Regions from separate parts of the Homo sapiens genome. Here region 2 is linked to region 1. Evidence: promoter capture Hi-C in 16 types of primary human blood cells and fetal thymus (Javierre and others, 2016). All regions are on one chromosome and are shown on one strand. The core of a region is centred on a gene start or on the middle of the fragment in contact, and the rest is flanking DNA. Distances in the headings are between cores, read along the strand shown. Region 1 holds the start of CRYZ (crystallin zeta). Region 2 holds the start of ZRANB2-AS1 (ZRANB2 antisense RNA 1).

Region 1 (5,301 bases), core at 1,436-3,935:
TGATGGTGACTTACGTATCTGACATTGTGCTGGCTACTCTGAATCTTAGAGCCAAATGTATGGCCCACTTCTAGCAACTTTACAGGATCTAGTGGTGGGATTGGCAACTAATGCCATCGCTGGCTTCATCTTATCTATATTTTCTTTATCCAGATTTTCCCACTTTTTATTTTTTCTTGTGTTGCCTGTTTGTAAGTTGCCCCAAATCCTTACTGAAATAAGGCAGATTTTAAAATAAACCATAATACGAGGTGTAAGATAAGAAATAAAAGTCTAACCAGTACAGAAGCAGTCATTACTTCCAAGTAGGTAGTATGTGTTTGTGGGTTCAGGTGGGAGAGGGGAGTTTTGGGAATCATGTCTCAGATATGCAGAGATAGGAAAACATTTCAGGAAAAAAACCGCCAAAAAACATGAGCAAAAGCAAGTAAATACAAGATGAAAAGAACAGTTTAGTTTCAGTAACTAGCTAAAGATGAAGAAAAGCAATGAAAAAAAGGTTGAAAGGTATACTAGAGTAAGCATTTGGATTTTCTGATGTAGAAAAATGTGTAATAAAACATAGCATAGGTGAGAGATAAGCAGAGTTGCAATTTGTCAAACATGGTTTGGAGAAGAATAGTTAAGTGGCTTGTTAGAGAACCATTGCAAAAATCAAGGCGAGACAGAGTTATGGAAATGGGGCAAGAGAGAGTTTGTGGGCAAGAATGCCATTGCTCTGAAGGTGATGGAAGTGATTTAAAAATGAACAGGCCCTGCTAACTTGAGAGATCAGCAAATAAATGATCAGTCAATAATGGACCTAAAGAATGAGCCTAACAATGTGCTGTCTTCCATGCTCTTAAGCCAATACTACGAATAAAATCAGTACACAGCCAACTTTTACAGTGCATGGGCCAGGCACAAAGCCAAATATTTCAAAAAAAATTATCCTATTTTCTCCACACAAAATCCCTATAAAGCAGATACTTTTTATTATCCTCAGTTCATAGAACAGGAAGGGGCAGAGTTGAGATAGCTTTCCTAAGGTCACATAGCCCGTGGTTTTTAATCTAAGCAGTATCACTCCCAAGCAGCCTTATCCTCAGGGGATATGTCCCAAGACCCCCTAGTGGATGCCTGAAACCTCAGATCAATTTCTTTTTCCTTCTTCACTTCACAATTTCACTGACAAGATTCATTCTTTCCGTAGATCTTAGCAACCTCAGCATATGCTGTTTTTTCTTTCCTTAAGTCTTTCCTTAAGAACTTTCACCTTTTCACTTCAAAAAAGCACTTTAAAACTTACTGTTGGCAGATCCAAATCGCCAGCATCATTACTCCCGTACTTTGGGGCCATTATTAAGTAAAATAAGAGTTACTTGAACACAAGCACTGTGATACCACCACAGTCGATCTGATAACCCAGAAGGCTACCAAGCAGCTAAAGGGCAGCAAGAATATATAGTGGAATATTCTGGACAAAGGGATGATTCACCTTCCATTCTGGAAGGAGCTGGTTGGCTCAAGATTTTATCACGCTACTCAGAACAGCATGCAATTTAAAACTTACTAATTGTTTATTTCTGGAATTTTCATTTAATATTTTCAGACTGCTGTTGACTGGGGTAACTGAACCTGCAAATAAGGAGGTATGGCTTGTACAGCTGCTTCTTGATTTATGATGGGGTTACATCCCAATAAATCCGTCATAAGTGGAAAATGTAAGTCAAAATGCATTTACTACCCCTGTAAACCCATCATAAAGTTAAAAAAAAAAGTCTAACCATCCTAAATTATATACGATCGTACTTTTCTCTGCGTAAAACTACTAGAGTTGTAATAATGGAGGGGCTCACTAGGAGGCAGTAAACTCCTTAACACTGGTGATGTTCAAGCATGCAGTAACAATGATTTGCCAGAGCTGTTGATGAGCGGATTCCGGCATTCAATACCTTAGCAAGCTACAAAGTCTTTAGATTCCCTTAGTATTCATATAATAAAATCAAATTTTCTAAACTTTGCCACACAAGATAGTTCCCAGGTCAGCAGTTTCAACATCATTTGGGCACTTGTTAGAAATGCACAGTATCAGGCCCTACCCTACACTTAAAGAATCGGGATCTGTATTTTAAAAGATGCTCAGCTGATTAATAGCCACGTTAAACTTTTAGAAGCACTGATCTAATCCCCTAAATTTCACATATAAAGAAACAGAGACCACCCCTCAGAGGAGCAAACACAGACATGCTGGATCCGGTCGTCACTGGATGGGAACAGGGCTCCTGAAGTTTCGCACTAGAAGGCAGGCGATGGACAGGCGCAAAGGGGCCTCACCCGGTCAAGGAGTAGGATGCGGCCAGCGCAGGAGCTGGTGGTGAAAAACTGATCTCGCATGTTCAGAAACTGCACAAGCTCTACCACATCCTCGTCAACACTGCCCTTCCGGCTGAGGTCCGCTTTGCTCAAACATTGCGCCTTCCATTTCCTGAACTCCGCGCTGCGATCCATGGGTGACGGACTCAGGGTCTGCGCTCGGCTCCTTCATGGTAGCCTCGTCTCTCCCTGGGGGCAGCCATATTGAAGCGAGCGGTGGCCGAAAAGGTCCAAACTTCCTCTTCGTTCTTAATTTGGGAAATTCTAGTGCCTTCGCCTAGGGGTGGAGAGAGGCGCACATCCTGGGTGGAGCGAGGCGCACATCCTGGGTGGAGCCTGCAAAAGTTGGAGAAGGTGTGGCAGTCCTCATTTCTGTGGAATCTGAAGAAGCCCACGCAGATTTTAATTCCCACTCTAGATTCTGGTAAGTGGTTTTAAAAACTCTCCTTAGTTGTTTAGACAGCGAATCTCCCCACTGCTCGTCCAAGTGGAACCGAGTTTGATTTTGGCTGCACCCCTTTCCTGCCCTCTGTCCTCCCAGAGAACTAGTGCGTAGAGCTCCAGACCGAAGCCATTCCCCTCCAGGGGCTGCAAGTTCCCATCCATAAATCAGGTAGGAAGTTTTGCCTTCTGGTCCTGGGCTCCTAGCCCTGGTCCTGCGTTTAGGCTCTGAGTTTAGGCTACCACACCATGAGGTGTCCGTTGGCACTACCCCTGCCCAGCCTCCGCCCCCCGCACTCCCTGTCCCCCAGCCCCACGCTGCACCCCCCCCCCCCCCCCCCGCCAGTCACCCGCTTGATTTTTCCCTGCAGCCAGTGCCTGGGTTTGGGGATTCCTGCAGCAGCGCCCAGCGGTCTGTCCAGGGCCCCTTCCCACAGCCCAGCTCTCAGCTGTAGAGGATTTGTCCTAGGTAGGGCCCCTTCCCACAGCCCAGCTGTAGGGGATTTCTTCTCCTAGGTAGGGCCCCTTCGCACAGCCCAGCTGTAGGGATTTGATTTCTTCTCCTAGGTAGGGCCCCTTCCCACAGCCCACCTGTCAGCTGTAGGGGATTTCTCCTAGGTAGGGCTCCTTCCCACAGCCCAGCTGTGGGGGATTTCTTCTCCTAGGTAGTGCCCCTTCGCACAGCCCAGCTGTAGGGGATTTGATTTCTTCTCCTAGGTAGGGCCCCTTCCCACAGCCCACCTGTCAGCTGTAGGGGATTTCTCCTAGGTAGGGCTCCTTCCCACAGCCCAGCTGTAGGGGATTTCTTCTCCTAGGTAGTGCCCCTTCGCACAGCCCAGCTGTAGGGGATTTGATTTCTTCTCCTAGGTAGGGCCCCTTCCCACAGCCCAGCTGTGGGGGATTTTTTGTCTTGGATTCCCACAATTACAGGTTTCCCGGAGCTTCCTCCAGCTTTGCCATCAGGATTGCAGTCTTTGAGAGAAATGTATAGTTTTATTGACCCTGTGACGCCCACCACCTAGAATAATCTTCAAAAGAAAATTACAAAACACCCTGTTAACACATCGTTGGATGTTTATACTGAGTTTCTAGAGGAGACTCAGTGACCAGGGAAGGTGTGTCAATGATTAAACCTAAAGGCTAAAGTTTGGAATGCTTGTCCGTAGCTAATGGAAATTGTTGTGCGAGTCCCTCTGAAGCCACTGTGATTACGTGTCTGGTTAGCGCAGCGAGTTCAGCAGCAAATCTCTCCAAGCTCTACTCCTCCAGCATTAGGGAACAGACTGCCCTGTTCCATACGATCATGGAACCTGGAGGAGTCCGAAATTATTAAACTCCTCCCCTCTTCTTACCCCGTCCTATCTCAAGTGAACAGAAGTGACCTGATAAGATCACACAGCCAGGAAGAGACTTTCTCTGACCACTTGTAATTCTTGCCTTTTTTACATTTCTGGGTTAATAATAAACCATATGCTTACATGAGTCATTGTGTATTAGCAGCAGAACAATTTGTAATGATTGATTTTTTTTCTAAGTTTTCAGTTTTTAAAATTCTTGCCAGAATTCTTATTTAATTTTACTTTTGCTCTTGTCTCATAATGTTCCTTTGCTCTGGCTTTGTGACTTGATCTGTTCATCCTATGTTAAAATATACTCCTAACATTTTCCCAATTCCTTTAATTTTCGTTTAAATCAAATGGATACAAGCATAGCCAGGAAAAAGATCACTGTTGGAAGAGGGATTTTAGATTTTCTATTTCCTAGATTTGTAAGGCATATTGGCAACCTTTCAGAGGTAAAATTAAACCAAAAATTAAACCAAGGGACTCTTAATTTTTAAAAGTTTATATTTGATAAACAGGAAGGCCTATTTGAAGTATAGTTTAATTAAAAAGCACAAGCAATGGAAAGGCCTGTCCTGTTCACAAGGATCCGATGCTAGGGAGTAATTTTTTTTTATACATTTTTAAAAATAGAATCATGTCCTTTGTATTTCTGCTGCATTCCCTGACTTAGTGGGCATTTGAGAAATTTCAAACTCTAAGCAGATGCCTTAGTCATAAAATATGCGATTCTACCTGCAGGTTAGTTTGATTTCACATTTTCTAGCTCAATCTGTCTCACTATCACTATTGTAAAGTTTATTTCTACGAAGTAAAGGGTCTTATATGCCAGCATCTCAAAGGGTGAGATGAAAAGGATGGTAAAGAAAAAAATCAGCTAACACCATTTAATTACAGGACTTGGGTTCTAGCTTTGCTTCTGTGTGACCCTGACCAAGTCTCTTAACCTCTTGTGATGTTTTCTCATCCATAAAATGGATGGCGATTTTATTTTTACTTCTGCATAAAATAATAGTTTAAATAACTTCTCTACCTGTTCTGAAAACAGTTAAGTCAATGGAGGTGGAAGACTTATGCTTTTTAGAAGAAATCCGGTATTACAGGATTTTAAGTATTATCCTATTTGCCATCAGTATGCCACGTTATTTTATTCTTTGTGTAA
Region 2 (5,668 bases), core at 39-2,538, 3.7 Mb after region 1:
GGAGGTCAAAGTGGGAGGATCATGATGTTAGGAAATCGAGACCATCCTGGCTAACATGGTGAAACCCTGTCTCTACTAAAAATACAAAAAATTAGCCAGGCGTGGTGGTGGGCGCCTGTAGTCCCAGCTACTTGGGAGGCTGAGGCAGGAGAATGGCGAGAATCTGGGAAGCGGCGCTTGCAGTGAGCCAAGATTGCACCACTGCATCCAACCTGGATGACAGAGTGAGACTCCGTCTAAAAAAAAAAAAAAAAAAAAAAAAAAACAAAACACACACAAAAACCATTATTCAAGAATACATCTACTTTGATTACTTTGATGCTTTACTTAAGGGGATGTATTCCTCCCTGTGCTGTGTGTACTTTGGGTGGGAGAAAGCTGAAGCTTCAGAAACTTTAAATGTCAGGGAATAGCCCTAAGCTGGCAGAGTAGCTGCAAATAAGAGGAGAATCCCTAGAATCAAGGAACCCACACAGAAGGTGATCTCCATTGCTAACTGACCAGCAAATTACACAGGCATAGGGAAATCAATCTCTAGGAAGCCAAGCTAAAAGAGCATGGAAAACCATGAGAATGAAGCAGAGATACCAAGAGCAGCATGCCCCATGGGAGGCAATATTGGCAGTTTGAATCCGGACAAGTTAACTGTCAAACAGAGCAAACAAACATAAAATAGATAATACTCAGGGAAAAAAACCCGGTAGACTCCAGAGTCATTACAATATATTACAATGTCCAGTTTTCAATTAAAAAAAACAGGCATGTAAAGAATAGGAAGAAAAGACAGCAGAAAAGGCATTCATAGAAAGGGACTCTTTGATCTAGCAAAGACTTCTAGGCATTGCTTTTATTTTGATACAGTAATTACATTGATTGATGTTTAAATGTTAAGTCTACATTGCACTGTACTTCCATGACAATCATTCTGAGAAGACAAAAGCCATGGGATCAGTGTTTCTCCTGTTATTTGGCACTTAGAATCAGTAATTTTGCACTAAAATATAAACCCCATGAATATAGGCACTGTTATGTATTGCTTTTGTATCCCTAATGACTGAAACAGTGTCTGACATAGATTGGGTGCTCAATGAATGGTTATTGAATGAATGAATGACTAAAATATAAACTAAAATTACTGGTTGGCTCCATGAAGAAAGACTTTCAGATATTTTCCATCCATAGTGAGGCAATCAAAGGCTGATCATGTGACTCATTATTAATCTTATTTTGTATCCATATTTAAGATTTTTAAATAGATGTTTAATAGAAGTAAATAGCAAAATAAATTCATCATCACTAGCTAAATATTGACATACATTATACATTTTAAGCTGTAGGGTACAATTAAGTAATCTGTGAATTTAAAACATGTCCAGGTTAGAATTTCATTGAAAACATAATAGGTGAATATATACTTTAAATTAAAAAAAAATGAATATCTGGTCTTTCAGTTTAATCCTCTACTGGTTTATTGACTGTTAAACAAAGTTGCCAATTTGTAACCTCAAAGGAAAACAAAGTGACCACAATTATGTACTGATAAGTAGATCTCTAGGAAAGAAATCAGAGATTCCCTAAGCAAAGCATCCATTGGCCCTATGGAAATTCTCTTTAAAACAGCATAAAGCATGTTATTAGCCTTTTGGTCACTAGAGGGTGGTGTTGTTTCAGACCAACACAATTCACACTATATCCGTAGTAACTGACCAGAAAGTACCAACCAGAATCCAACTGCCAGCTTCACACTGTTACTCCACAAAACCTCACAGTCACTTGTTTACAAGGTGAATAGCTAAAGGCAGACAATATAGGATGAAGCAAAGTGCTGAAAGAAGAGAAATACCCAAATTATCTGAAATGCAACACATTTTGTTCATTGGCATAGAGGTTAGTGAGAGGCTAACAATTCTTTACTAATACATGCCCCGACGCTTACCATGCTTATCAAGTCCAATTGGCTACAGCAAGCACTTCAGTGGGAGAAGTAAAAGTTTCAAAGAAGTCAAATATTTGTGAATAAAAATGAGAATAGTTTTTGATGTAACTGGAAAAAGATAAGCCTTGCTTCCTTTGCTGTGTGAATGGTGATATGGTCTTAAATTTTAAATATTGAATTACACTAGAATTTTACTAACTATAGATGGTATAAACTTGATAGCCACTTTCATCCAAATGCTTTGGATAAAGCTTTGTCTAAGAATAACCTCAAATATTATTTTATTTTCAAATGATATTAGGCTAGAAAAATACTATCCCAAATACAGGTTTGAGATTAATTCAAAATAATAAGACAAAAGTTTACGGAAGATTTTAGAATCAAACCATTTCACCCTTCCTAGCTGTTGTTCCCATTGTAAACGTGACATTTTAGTCAGTAAAACGCAAAAGTGCAAAACATTTTTAAATGACAGCAAAACACAAAATGAAATTCATGTTGTGATTAATGCATCTTATTAAAATGGAGTTTAAGTTGCATTCTTGCTTTTCCTTCTTTAAAAAACATATAATGTTATAGTGATATTTTTTCAAACTCTCATACAGAATCAAGACAACAGCACATAAAGTATGCAGAGGGACATATCCCATTCTTACCTCTTAACAGTAATTTAAAAGTTAAGAACACCCATACAGAACATCAGCTAAGCTAGGAAAGGCAAAACTGATTGGGCTTGTTCTGAAAGTTGATCTGTGTCAATCAAAATAATGGTCTTTAGAGTGCTATATGATTAAGTCTAATTTCTTAAATATGAGGAAAAATGAACTTTGCAATTATTTTTAAAAATCTTTTCATCTCTTAGACAGTGTAAAAAGGCAAAAAGCAAAAAACACAAGACTTTCCCAAGATTAGGGGAAGATGATCTCACCGTTAATATTCATCTGCTGAGAGCAGTTATGGGACCCATGTCAGGAATACATGCTTCAAATAAGATGGGACTTGAGAATTGCTGAGAGACTTCAGGAACATTCTTTAACTTCATGGGGCCTCAGTTACCCCACCTTTAAGGGAAATAATAATAGCAATAGTACCTTGGAGGATTTCTGTGATAAAATGAGAAAATGCTTGTGAGAAGTACATAAAATATTGGCTTACTGAAAGATGTTACGAGGCAAGCAAGTATGCCTATTTTCATTCAATGTTTATTATTTCAAAGGCAAAGTTTCCATATAGATTAAGGCCTTCATAACATCTGAATACCTTTTCTAGTTCTTATTGTATGAAGATAAGAAGGATGGTTGGAGGCTTTGTAAGGAATACCTTTCTCTTCTGCTCCCCTCTCACTCCCATAGGCTGGGAGCAGTTGATTTCACTACCTCAGATATGCAAATTGATGCCACCTTCCTGTAGCCACTTTTGCCATAGCTGACCTTTTTGTTGGGTGGTGGGGAGGGGAGCGGGCAGGATTAGGCGAGGGGTAGTAGTTGGGATTTCTTGGTCTTGGAATTCAACCATCCGATGTATTTGTTTCCCTGTGTCTATTCCCTTAAGTCTACAGGCACTGTCTAGTAATTTTATAGTTTTCAGCGGCACCCCAGGGGACAGGACACCTTGGCCTTTTTATAATCACTCTAGAGTCACAAAGCAGAAAGGAAAAAAGTTAACGATCAGCTATGCAAAGGCTTGTGTGGATTGCTTAAGGACAGGCGATTTTCACTTTACCAGAGTTACTAAAGGACTTCAGGAGAAGGATCCCGTCCCTGTAGGAGCGTTTGTGGTTGAAGAAGCAGGAGGACGAGCGCTCAGGTGCGCCTCGGCAGTTTGCCTGGGGTCCGCAAGTCCAGTGCTACTTATTAGCTGCTTGCCGTCCACCGACACTTTAGCGGAGAACTGGAGGAGACCCCAGTGGGCTCCCGGTCCGGCCAGGAGCAGGGCGTTTCAGAGGAGACCGTCTGGGGCTTCCCAACCCAGGCGATCAGGATAGGCAACAGCCAAGAGAGGCGCTCAGTTGCTTTGCACCCTCCTCCCACCTCGGTTCTGTCCACACCCACGGGCGCCCCGCCCCCTCGGCCTTATAAAGGGGACTCGGCACCTCCGCGCGCCTCGCCACCAGAGGTTTCCCAGAGAGGAAGGCGTGGCTCCCTCCCGGGCCAGTGAGCCCTGGCGCCGCCGCGGCCGCGGTCCCAGCAGCGGAGTAGGGCGGCGGCTGCGCCCCGCACCATGGGGGGCAGCCCAGCCCCAGCCGCGGTAAACGCCGACCTCCGCCGCCGCCCGCGCCGCGTCTGCCCCCTCCCGCTGCGGCTCTCTGGACGCCATCCCCTCCTCACCTCGAAGCCAACATGAAGGAGACCCGGGGCTACGGAGGGGATGCCCCCTTCTGCACCCGCCTCAACCACTCCTACACAGGCATGTGGGCGCCCGAGCGTTCCGCCGAGGCGCGGGGCAACCTCACGCGCCCTCCAGGGTCTGGCGAGGATTGCGGATCGGTGTCCGTGGCCTTCCCGATCACCATGCTGCTCACTGGTTTCGTGGGCAACGCACTGGCCATGCTGCTCGTGTCGCGCAGCTACCGGCGCCGGGAGAGCAAGCGCAAGAAGTCCTTCCTGCTGTGCATCGGCTGGCTGGCGCTCACCGACCTGGTCGGGCAGCTTCTCACCACCCCGGTCGTCATCGTCGTGTACCTGTCCAAGCAGCGTTGGGAGCACATCGACCCGTCGGGGCGGCTCTGCACCTTTTTCGGGCTGACCATGACTGTTTTCGGGCTCTCCTCGTTGTTCATCGCCAGCGCCATGGCCGTCGAGCGGGCGCTGGCCATCAGGGCGCCGCACTGGTATGCGAGCCACATGAAGACGCGTGCCACCCGCGCTGTGCTGCTCGGCGTGTGGCTGGCCGTGCTCGCCTTCGCCCTGCTGCCGGTGCTGGGCGTGGGCCAGTACACCGTCCAGTGGCCCGGGACGTGGTGCTTCATCAGCACCGGGCGAGGGGGCAACGGGACTAGCTCTTCGCATAACTGGGGCAACCTTTTCTTCGCCTCTGCCTTTGCCTTCCTGGGGCTCTTGGCGCTGACAGTCACCTTTTCCTGCAACCTGGCCACCATTAAGGCCCTGGTGTCCCGCTGCCGGGCCAAGGCCACGGCATCTCAGTCCAGTGCCCAGTGGGGCCGCATCACGACCGAGACGGCCATTCAGCTTATGGGGATCATGTGCGTGCTGTCGGTCTGCTGGTCTCCGCTCCTGGTAGGTAGTTCCAGGGTTGGGGGAAGTCAGGATGCGTGTGCGAGTAAGCGGGAACCTAAGACTTTGCTAAGTGGCAGCACCCGCAGGGGTGTGTTTGCAACCGCAGAGCGCTGAAGTGTCCTTTCCTCCTGCCCGCGCGGTCTTGGTTACAGCTTCAGAGCTGAGCTCCTCACTTACTAGCTGAGCGCCTTCCAAGAGCCAGGATTCGCATTAGGCACTGTTTATGAGCACATAGAGATCACAGGGCTGCTCACATTCTAGTCGGGTAGGAGACAGGATGTGTCATTGAAATGACATATATGCAGAGCTAGAAGTTTGTCCTGAGTGCATTAAAAGCAGAATTGCTATGATAACTGTAGCCTGATATTGTGGGGTTTTTTTTTTTTTTTTTTTTTGAGACGGAGTCTCGCTCTGTCACCCAGGCTGGAGTACAGTGGCGCAGCCTCGGCTCACTGCAAGCTCCGCCTCCCGGGTTCACGCCATTCTCCTGCCTCAG

The links. The method cuts DNA at HindIII sites, captures the fragments that hold promoters and counts their contacts. A CHiCAGO score of 5 or more calls a contact.
Region 2: a fragment that was not itself captured here is called in contact with the fragment with the promoter of CRYZ in region 1 in 2 of 17 cell types (total CD8 T cells and naive CD8 T cells); the score reaches 5.8 in total CD8 T cells.

What each region holds. Positions count from the first base shown.
Region 1 is chr1:74,730,434-74,735,734 of GRCh38, reverse strand. CRYZ (crystallin zeta) reads left to right here and starts at 2,685. Exons shown (of 9, transcript NM_001889.4): 1 at 2,685-2,779. It overlaps TYW3 (tRNA-yW synthesizing protein 3 homolog), which reads right to left and starts at 2,583. Exons shown (of 6, transcript NM_138467.3): 1 at 2,317-2,583. The coding sequence starts at 2,490. RefSeq lists enhancers at 1,969-2,068, 2,449-2,738, 2,293-3,003, 3,599-3,888. The HindIII fragment of the contact is 10,326 bases long and covers 1-5,301 here.
Region 2 is chr1:71,046,185-71,051,852 of GRCh38, reverse strand. It overlaps ZRANB2-AS1 (ZRANB2 antisense RNA 1), which reads right to left and starts at 5,347. Exons shown (of 3, transcript NR_038420.1): 1 at 4,264-5,347; 2 at 2,865-3,039. It overlaps PTGER3 (prostaglandin E receptor 3), which reads left to right and starts at 4,037. Exons shown (of 4, transcript NM_198719.2): 1 at 4,037-5,172. The coding sequence starts at 4,276. RefSeq lists an enhancer at 4,040-4,623. The HindIII fragment of the contact is 1,803 bases long and covers 387-2,189 here.